Linked DNA regions of Homo sapiens: region 2 is linked to region 1. The links are contacts of gene promoters, found by promoter capture Hi-C in blood cells and fetal thymus (Javierre and others, 2016). All regions are on one chromosome and are shown on one strand. Each heading gives the region's core, a stretch centred on a gene start or on the middle of the fragment in contact. The rest is flanking DNA. Distances are from core to core; before and after follow the strand shown. Region 1 holds the start of SEPHS1 (selenophosphate synthetase 1). Region 2 overlaps FRMD4A (FERM domain containing 4A).

The links. The method cuts DNA at HindIII sites, captures the fragments that hold promoters and counts their contacts. A CHiCAGO score of 5 or more calls a contact.
Region 2: a contact is called between a fragment that was not itself captured here and the fragment with the promoter of SEPHS1 in region 1, in 1 of 17 cell types (neutrophils). The highest score is 5.3, in neutrophils.

The regions. Positions count from the first base shown.
Region 1 is chr10:13,345,975-13,350,257 of GRCh38, forward strand. SEPHS1 (selenophosphate synthetase 1) reads right to left here and starts at 2,319. Exons shown (of 9, transcript NM_012247.5): 1 at 2,026-2,319. RefSeq lists silencers at 1,255-2,084, 2,215-2,434 and enhancers at 2,504-3,294, 3,295-4,086. The HindIII fragment of the contact is 15,925 bases long and covers 1-4,283 here.
Region 2 is chr10:13,818,821-13,822,797 of GRCh38, forward strand. The region is part of intron 3 of FRMD4A (FERM domain containing 4A); the gene reads right to left. Among named protein-coding and RNA genes, the nearest start is that of FRMD4A-AS2, 170 kb to the right of the region's middle. The HindIII fragment of the contact is 1,851 bases long and covers 1,639-3,489 here.

The DNA.
Region 1 (4,283 bases), core at 1,069-3,568:
GTCTGTGTTCTTCAGGCGAAAGCCTGGAAAGTTCTCTGATGTTTTCACGCAGTGCTATTTCCTAGAAAGCAAAACATCCAGCCCAACAAACTAGTACACACATCATTGACAAAATATGCTACTCCTCATTAACATTTCATTGCAGAACCGAAACAATAAATTAAGCCATACTAAATCAGCAGCATTTCGGCCCTGTGTACCACCGTTAGGTTTCTGGAACAAGCACTCCTACGTTTTTTAGCCTTTGGGGCTAAAGGAAAAAACAACATGTGTTCCTCGAGTTTACAAACCTCCAGACTGATACTTTATTGGGACTAGAATTACAAACACCCCAAGTTTTAAGGTCGGTTTCCCCTATAAAATTTATGATTAAGAACATAATTCCCATTTATAGAGTTTTCCATCCCTTGGGACGCACATCGCTCATATAAATCTCACGAAGCCCGAGTTTGGGCAGTAATCCAAACCGTCTTCACAAAAACACGGTTTGGGATGAGCAATGATTTCGGTGGGAAACGTAACAACTGAGCAGGAGTCAGCCTTCGAACACGATTCCAAGAAGTCTCCCTGCCCAAAAAGAGCAGGCGCTGGCCGCAAGTGACAAGAGACGAGAATTTTGAAGCCATCTTAGAGTTATGGGAAAGTTTGAATACCACTTTGACTTGGAAGGCGTTTTCAACAAAAACAACAAAGTCCTTTCCTCAAAAAACACCTCGCATTTAACACAGCCTCACCCCTACCAGGAAAAAAAAAAGAAAAAGAAAAAATCCAACTCACGAGGCATCCAGTTATTTTCCTACCTCCTATCTATTCCTCTCCTGGCTCCCAAAAAGGTGGGGAGGGGAATTGTGTGGCTATCACTTCCTTTTAAATTACTATCTTCTCAAGAGTTTTAAGGGTGGAAAAAAGTTTAAAACACCTTGTATCAGGAAGGCGCTCAGATTTAAAATTCCAAATGGTACTAAGGACACAAATCAGCCTCACATCCTAATGAAAAAAGTACTAGATTCTTACATTTTTGGAGGGCATGGGAAGGGGGAGGGGGTTCTGGGGGAAATGTGCAGTGATTAGGGAACCAGGGGGATCCATTTGCATTAATAAGGGACGGTGCCCGGCGACCCCGCAGCCACATGTTTACGCCTTTAAAACAATGGCATGAATATTTAAAGCAACGTTTAGCCCTTTCCTTCCCGGGCACATTTCCATGGTTTGGTTTTTTTTTTTCTTCCAACGAGCGTGGGGAGCCGGGGAGCCGGTCAGCGGGGTGGGCCCGGCGCGCTGCCCCGCCAACCCCGGACCTACCTCCCCGCCGGCCCCGCACAATGGGGCGCGCTCTCCAGGACGCCCGCGTCGGAGGCGGCCGGGGAGGGGAGCAAGGAACCCGGGGACACCTTCGGGCTCAGGCTCAGGCTCAGGCCCTCGCCGCCGCCTCGGAAGGCCCAGCAGGCCCGGGCTGCGGGCCGGCGGCGGGGCGGAGGCGGCAGCTCGGGGCCCCGGCCGGGCCATCCCTGTTCGGGCCGGCGGGAGGCGGCGGGAGCCGGCGGGCACCGCGCGTGCGGCCCAGGAGCCGGGGAGGACGCCGGGACGCACCCGCCCCGGGTCGACAGGGCCCGCGCGGAGAAAAGGGGAGGCGGGGAGGCCCCGGAGGCACCCCGCGACCCCAGGCCGGCCGCTCCCGCCGCGCGCACGGGCCGCCGCCGCCGCCGCGCAAAAATGTCGGCGGGCGAAAAAATTAACCCCTGCGTGGCCGCCGCCGCCCTCCCCTCCGCTCCTCCCCGCCCTCCCTCCCTCCTTCCCCGGCCCCGCGCGGCGGCGGCGGCGGCGCGGGCGGCGCTTCTTTTTTAAAGCGGCCCCACCAAGCCCGGCGCTGCCCCTCTCCAGGCAGGGCTGGCGGGGCCGGCGGCGCGCGGCTCCCCGGCGGTCCCGGGCGGCCCGGAGGGGGATTTGCAACGGCCGCCGCGGGCCTGCGGACCCAGATTCCCCTTTAAGCCTGCGCCTCCCCCCCGCGCCGGGCCCGCCGCTTACCGGCTCGCTTTGCGCCCTCCGCCTCCTCCCGAAAACGGGCCGCGGGCCGCTCCCACAATGCACCGGGCGCGGCCGGGCTCCCTTAAGCGTCGCCTGAATAAAAATGCCGCGCCCGGCGGCGGCGGCGGCGGCGGGGGCCCGGGCCCGCGCCTGGGCGCCGCGGGGGCTCGCCTGCCTCGGCGCGGCCCTGCGGGAGCCGGGCCGCCGCGCTCCCGCCGGCTGGGCGCGCGGGGGTCCTTTAAGGCCGGCCACCTCCCTTTAAGAGGCGGCCCTGGCTGCTGGGTGGCGGCGTGCGGCCCGGGAAGGGGGCGGGGGCGCCGTGCAGCCCCGAGCGCGGCAATGATTGGTCTCGGGGGAGGGGTGGGGGGTTGCAAACCCGAGGAGCGGTGGCATCCGTTGCATGATGCAAAAAAGGATTGATTTCAAAAGTTGCGAGTTGCATTGGCAGCCGCCCTTGGCGCCCGGGCCACCTTTTTCCCGGGCCCCGCTGCAAGGGCCGGGAACGTTTCCGCCACCTGGCCGGGCTCGACCGCGCGGCGCTCTGCGGGGCGCTGTCCCCGCTCCCCGAGTGCGCAGCGGAGCGTCCTGGAAGACAATGACCATGGGAACAATTTGCACAGGAGGCTAGGAGCCCAGGAAAAGCCGCCTGGGCGCCAGGCAGAGGTTTTTTGAAAACACAAACGGCGCGTTAGATGCTTGGGGACTCCCAGCATCTGTCCTTCCTATTGTTTAGCTCGGCTCCGGAGTTCACGGGAGCCTCGTGAAATGTGGAGACGTCCTGCAAAGTTTCTTGAACACTTCATGTGCGTGGTAGGAAGTCGAGGAAAAAGGTTTACGGTTCCCCGCTGGTTGCATTGTTTGTCCTGCACATGTTCGAGCGAACATGGCAGCCGCAACCCTGGATGTGTTCGAATTGACATCGAGGGGGGAGCTTCACGTCGTGAAATAACTTTTTTCTGGGCTTTCGAGATTCTAAAGCATTGCTGATGAAAATAAACCAAATACTTTCAGATATCGTTTAGGGCTTCTCTCTAAAACAGCAGTGTGCAGGAATGCCGATCGAACTTTTCTAGGCAGTAGGTCAGCATTTTCCAAATGTTATTTGGGAGCAGAAATGTTTTGGGTCACTGGACCGTGCTTTACGTGGCACGGCAGGTTGGCACGCTACGCAGATGCCCTTTTCGTTAACATTTCCGCTTGCCAGTTGCTCCGGGTTTTAATCCTGGGCTGGATGCAGAAGTGATGCCACCTCGAAGACAGGCTGCTCCTGTCTTTGTGTACTTTCTTCATACCCTGTAGTAAGTTTGCAAAGAACGTGTTAGTCTGCATTCTTTTATTTTATATTTATTTATTTATTTATTTTGAGACGGAGTCCCACTCTGTCGCCAGGCTGGAGTGCAGTGGCGCGATCTCGGCTCACTGCAACCTCCGCCTCCTGGGTTCAGGTGATTCTCCTGCCTCAGCCTCCCCAGTAGCTGGGATTACAGGCGCCTGCCACTGGAGGATGGCTTCTCCCAGAGGGGAAGACAGGGTCACGGTTCTCATTAAGAGGGTATTGTACTAGTCAAGCCCGGAGATGTACTTGAACTGAAAGCAAGGGGAATGCAGCCCAGGGAAGGGATTTGGTGTGATTTAGCACGTAGGAAGGAGAGGAAGAAGGATAAGATGACCCCCAGGTTTCCAGTTTGCGGGGGTGGGGGGTGGGGGAGGGAATGAGGAGCGATGCTAATAATTTATCTAAGAACTGCTGAAAGGCAAACAAGTTTCGGGGTGAGTTCAGCTTTGGAAATGTTAAATCTGAGGTCTGCCGGATGGTGTGGGGGTGGGGCTCAGAGTTGCAAATCTCAGGTCTGCCGGATATTCCAGACCAAAGTTAATAGGGAAACAGGTCCGGAATTTGGTGTGGGGATGGGGCTCAGAGATGCAAATCTGGGTGCCATCAGCATGTAAATGGTGTTCGAAGCCTCCGTAAGAGGTGAGATTAACCCCGAAGGGAGAGCTCAGGAAAAAAGTGAAAGAGACCTTGGACAGAGCTCTGCAGAACTTGGAAATCAAGTGGCTGGGCGGGACAGAGGCCGATCCCCGCTGCGTCGGTGGGAGGCCACCATCCTCAGAACCGACTCTTCCTCCCCGCCTCCACCCACCACGAGCTCACCGGGAAGCAGTTCTCTGCCGCAGAGGCCGTAAGCCACAGATGCCTTACTTCATCCAGGGCCACACTACAGCCTTGGCCCAGATCATCTGGCAGAGTCATGCAT
Region 2 (3,977 bases), core at 1,314-3,813, 470 kb after region 1:
ATTATTTAAAAAATTCCATGTATGGCCAGGCACGGTGGCTCACGCCTATAATCCCAGGACTTTGGGAAGCCGAGGTGGGCAGATCACCTGAGGCCAGGAGTTTGAGACTAGCCTGGCCAACACGGTGAAACCCTGTCTCTACTAAAAATACAAAAAAATTAGCTGGGCGTGGTGGCTCATGCCTGTAATCCCAGCTACTCGAGAGGCTGAGGCACGAGAATCGCTTGAACCTAGGAGATGGAGGTTGCAGTGAGCCGAGATCGCACCACTACCCTCCAGCCTGGGTGACAGAGTGAGACTCTGTCTCAAACAAAACAAAACAAAACAAAACAAAATCCCCACTCCATATAGTATCAAGTTCTAAATGCTAGCCTGGTATTTAAGACCACCCTATGAACCCAGCCCCAGTTTACCTATCCAACCTCACTTTTGCCCAGTTCCCTACAAAAATATCCATTTCTGTTCAATCTATTTGATTGAACTAAAGAAAACACTGATCTCATTTTTATTTCCAAATCTTTGTACATTCCATTCTCCCCCTCCCCCTTCCCATTTAAATTTTATCCTGCTCAAAGCCCACTTCCTCCATGAAGCCCTCCCTGACCATCCTGCCTACAAATGCTCTCTCCCTCCTCTGGATTTCTACAGCACTCAACACAGGCAGCTTAGTCACACTTGGCACATGTGCTCTTGTGTTGTGGTAAACTTTGTGTGACATGATTTGTTACACTCTATAGCAGGTTGAATGGTGGTCCCCAAAAACATATGTACCCATCCCAGTCACTGGAACCTGTGAGTATTACCTTTCATCACAAAAGACGTGATCCTTGGGAGGAGGAACTAATCCTGGTGGGCTCTAAGTGCCATTATATTGTCTCCTTTTTTTTTTTTTTTTTTCTGAGATGGGGTCTGGAGTGCGGGCTGGAGTACAGTGGCACGATCTCAGGCTGGAGTGCAGTGGCATGATCTCAGCTCACTGCAACCTCCACCTCCCAGGTTCAAGCAATTCTCATGCCTCAGCCACCCAAGTAGCTGGGATTATAGGCATGTGCCACCACACCCAGCTAATTTTTTTGTGTTTTTAGTAGAGATGACGTTTCAACATGTTGGCCAGGCTGGTCTCGAACTCCTGAGCGCAAGGGATCCACCTGCCTTGGCCTCCCAAGGTCCTGGGATATATTGCCTCCTTATAAGAGAGATACAGAGGGTTTTTTAAAAACAGACATACAGGAGAGAAGACAGAGGCAGAGACCTGAGTGATGAGTGATGAAGACACAGGCGAGGAACCCCAGTCACTAGAAGCTGGAAGAGGTGGGGAAGCGATTGTCCCCTCCAGCTGCCTCCAGAAATTTGGGAGAGTGAGTTTCTGTTATTTTCCAGCCATCAGGTTTGTGGTTATTTGTTATGGCAGACACAGGAAACTCATACACCCTCAGATGGAAACCCCGAAGACCTCGTTTCCGTGTAATTGAAGGGAACTCAGCACTGGTTGGTTGTGACATGAGTGATCTCAGTGCGAAGCCTGCATTGACATTGGTGTTCTCTCTCCACTGTCCCTGTGGCACTCTGGGCTGGGAAGGCAGGCGGGCCTTGGTCTCAGCCGACCTTGGGTCACTCCATGGTGAAGCAGGCCCCTTAAGCTTCTTCTTGTTAACCTATTCCCTTGGGGCATCTCACAGATTCTAAGTCAAAAGAGTTGCCACTTCTGAGTTAATTGTATCTCAAAAAAAAAAAAAAAATTCAAACAGCAAACAAGCAGTAACCATCAGGTGACTCCCATCTGTGCTTTGGGAGGAACCACGGTCTCCTCTGAAGAGTGACACTCTCAGCTCCTGCTCTTCGCCAAGGGTGTTTTTTGACAATCCCTTTGTCACTGCAGAGCCCCCAGTGACTGCTAAGCTGCCAGGGTTTGGACACGCATGGCCGGATGGCACAGCCACAGCCGCCGCTCTGTGCCCAGCACTGCCTGCCCATCCACTCTGCCCGGGACCCCGGGACCTGCTGGATGGGTGGCTCCCTGCCCTTTAGGAGTGGGTGCAGCTGTGGGATGGCAGACAGGGGCTGTCTGGGAGTGACTGTGAAACGTGGCCCGTCTGCCCCCATCTCTCTGGACAGGAGGGGCCGGGGTTAGCTTTTCGGAAAACCCAGAGGGAAAGAGCAGGGGAAGGAGCGCAGCTTTGAATAAATGAGCCTGAGCAAGCTGCCGGGTCTGAAGCCTGGGCTGTCACTGTGTGTCCCTCTCCATCCCCATGGGGGCTCTGAGCCCAGCAATGGCTCAGCGGCTGCTCATTATTCCCGGGGAGGGGAAGCTGCTGCGGGGGGTGCATGAGGTGACTCTGTGCAGCTCTGTCCACTGTGTGGCCAGCAGGTCTGGGCGGCGACTCCCCTCCTTGTCGCCCTGCTGCTTAGCTGGGAAGGCTGGTTTCCTTCCTGCCTCTCCAGCACAGCCCTGGGTTCTGTGGCAGGGGACACAGGGAGGCTACTTCCTGTAGGCAGACGGGTGTGAAGAACAATGGAGTTGCACTGTCTTGGCTCTCAGGCACCCAGAACAGGTAGGAGAGACCCCGAAGCCAAGATCAGAGACCCGCCTGCCAGAGGTGGCATCTCTTTACCCAGAGGTCCCTGCCCAGCCTGAACCGGGATCCATTCGTGCACATGAGACAAATCCTTTACCTCTAGTCTAGGAGTGACAGTGGCATCACATCGCTGCAGCAGAACAGCAAAGCTGCCAACAACACTGCCCACCTGTCCCCGCCTGCAGCTGCTACTTCACATGAATTCATGCAGCCAGCCCTAGAAACCAGAAACACCTGAAGTAGACACCAGGATTGCCCCCATGTGATAGAGGGAACTGAGATACAGCCAGAGAAGCAACTCGCCAAATTCACACAGCGAATCAGTGGGAGAACTGAACCGCGGCACACAGGTGGGCATGGGTCACCCAGGATTATAGGAAGAGCCAGAGAGACCATCTGCCCAGCCCACTTCATGACGGCAGCAGAAAGGAAAGCCTAGAGGAGGCCAGAAACCTGTCCAGGACGAGGGTGGGCACCTTGGTTACCAGCATAGGTGAGGTGGCCCCGAAGTGCCCGCCACACCTCCATCCTTTGCCCCCGCTAATGTTACACTTAGGGGACAGAGCAGGTCTCGAAGATCCGAAGCAGGAAGGAAAGAAACAAAGTACATCAAGGAAAGGGGTAAAAGTGGTCACTGACAGAAATGGAAACGATATATATATATATACATACACACACACATATGTACACACATAGATCTATATGTATGTATCTATTTGTGATGTACAACATGATGTTTTCATGTATATGCACATGTGGGCTGACCCATCAAGCTAATAAACATATCCATCACCTATCATACTTACGATTTTTGTAGCGAGAACATTTCCAAACTACTCTCAGCAATTTTCAAGCATTGAAGACATCGTTATTAGCTACAATAACCACGATGTACAATAGATCTCCTAAACAAAGCTTTGCTTGCTTTTAAATTCTGGGGTTCAGATCTAGCAAATAACAGCCTCTCCTGAAGTCAAAAGCCAAGCCACCTTTTCTAAATGCAATAGAATTTTGCCAGACAGTAAGTTCCTGGAAGGGAGGGATCACATTTGATCGACATTTGTGGACTTACACCCCAATACAGTCCCTGACACACAGTAGGTGCCTAATGAAAGTTTCCTATTGGTAGAATGGGACAGAATAAAGGGTGGCATATGCAGTTGTTCTACCACGAGACAGGATGGAACCTGGACACCCTCTTGAGCTGGTTTGAAGGAGAGATCTGCTAGGCAGAGACTGCGGTGCTGCACAGAGCCAGATGGGACCAGGTGTCGCATGCTCACTGATGCCAGAGAGCCACTGGGTTTCAATCAGATCACACAGCTCCAGGCAGCCATGAAGGGGCCTGTGACAGATACTTGTGTCCCCAGGAAAGGATATGTCATGTCCCTATTCCCAAAC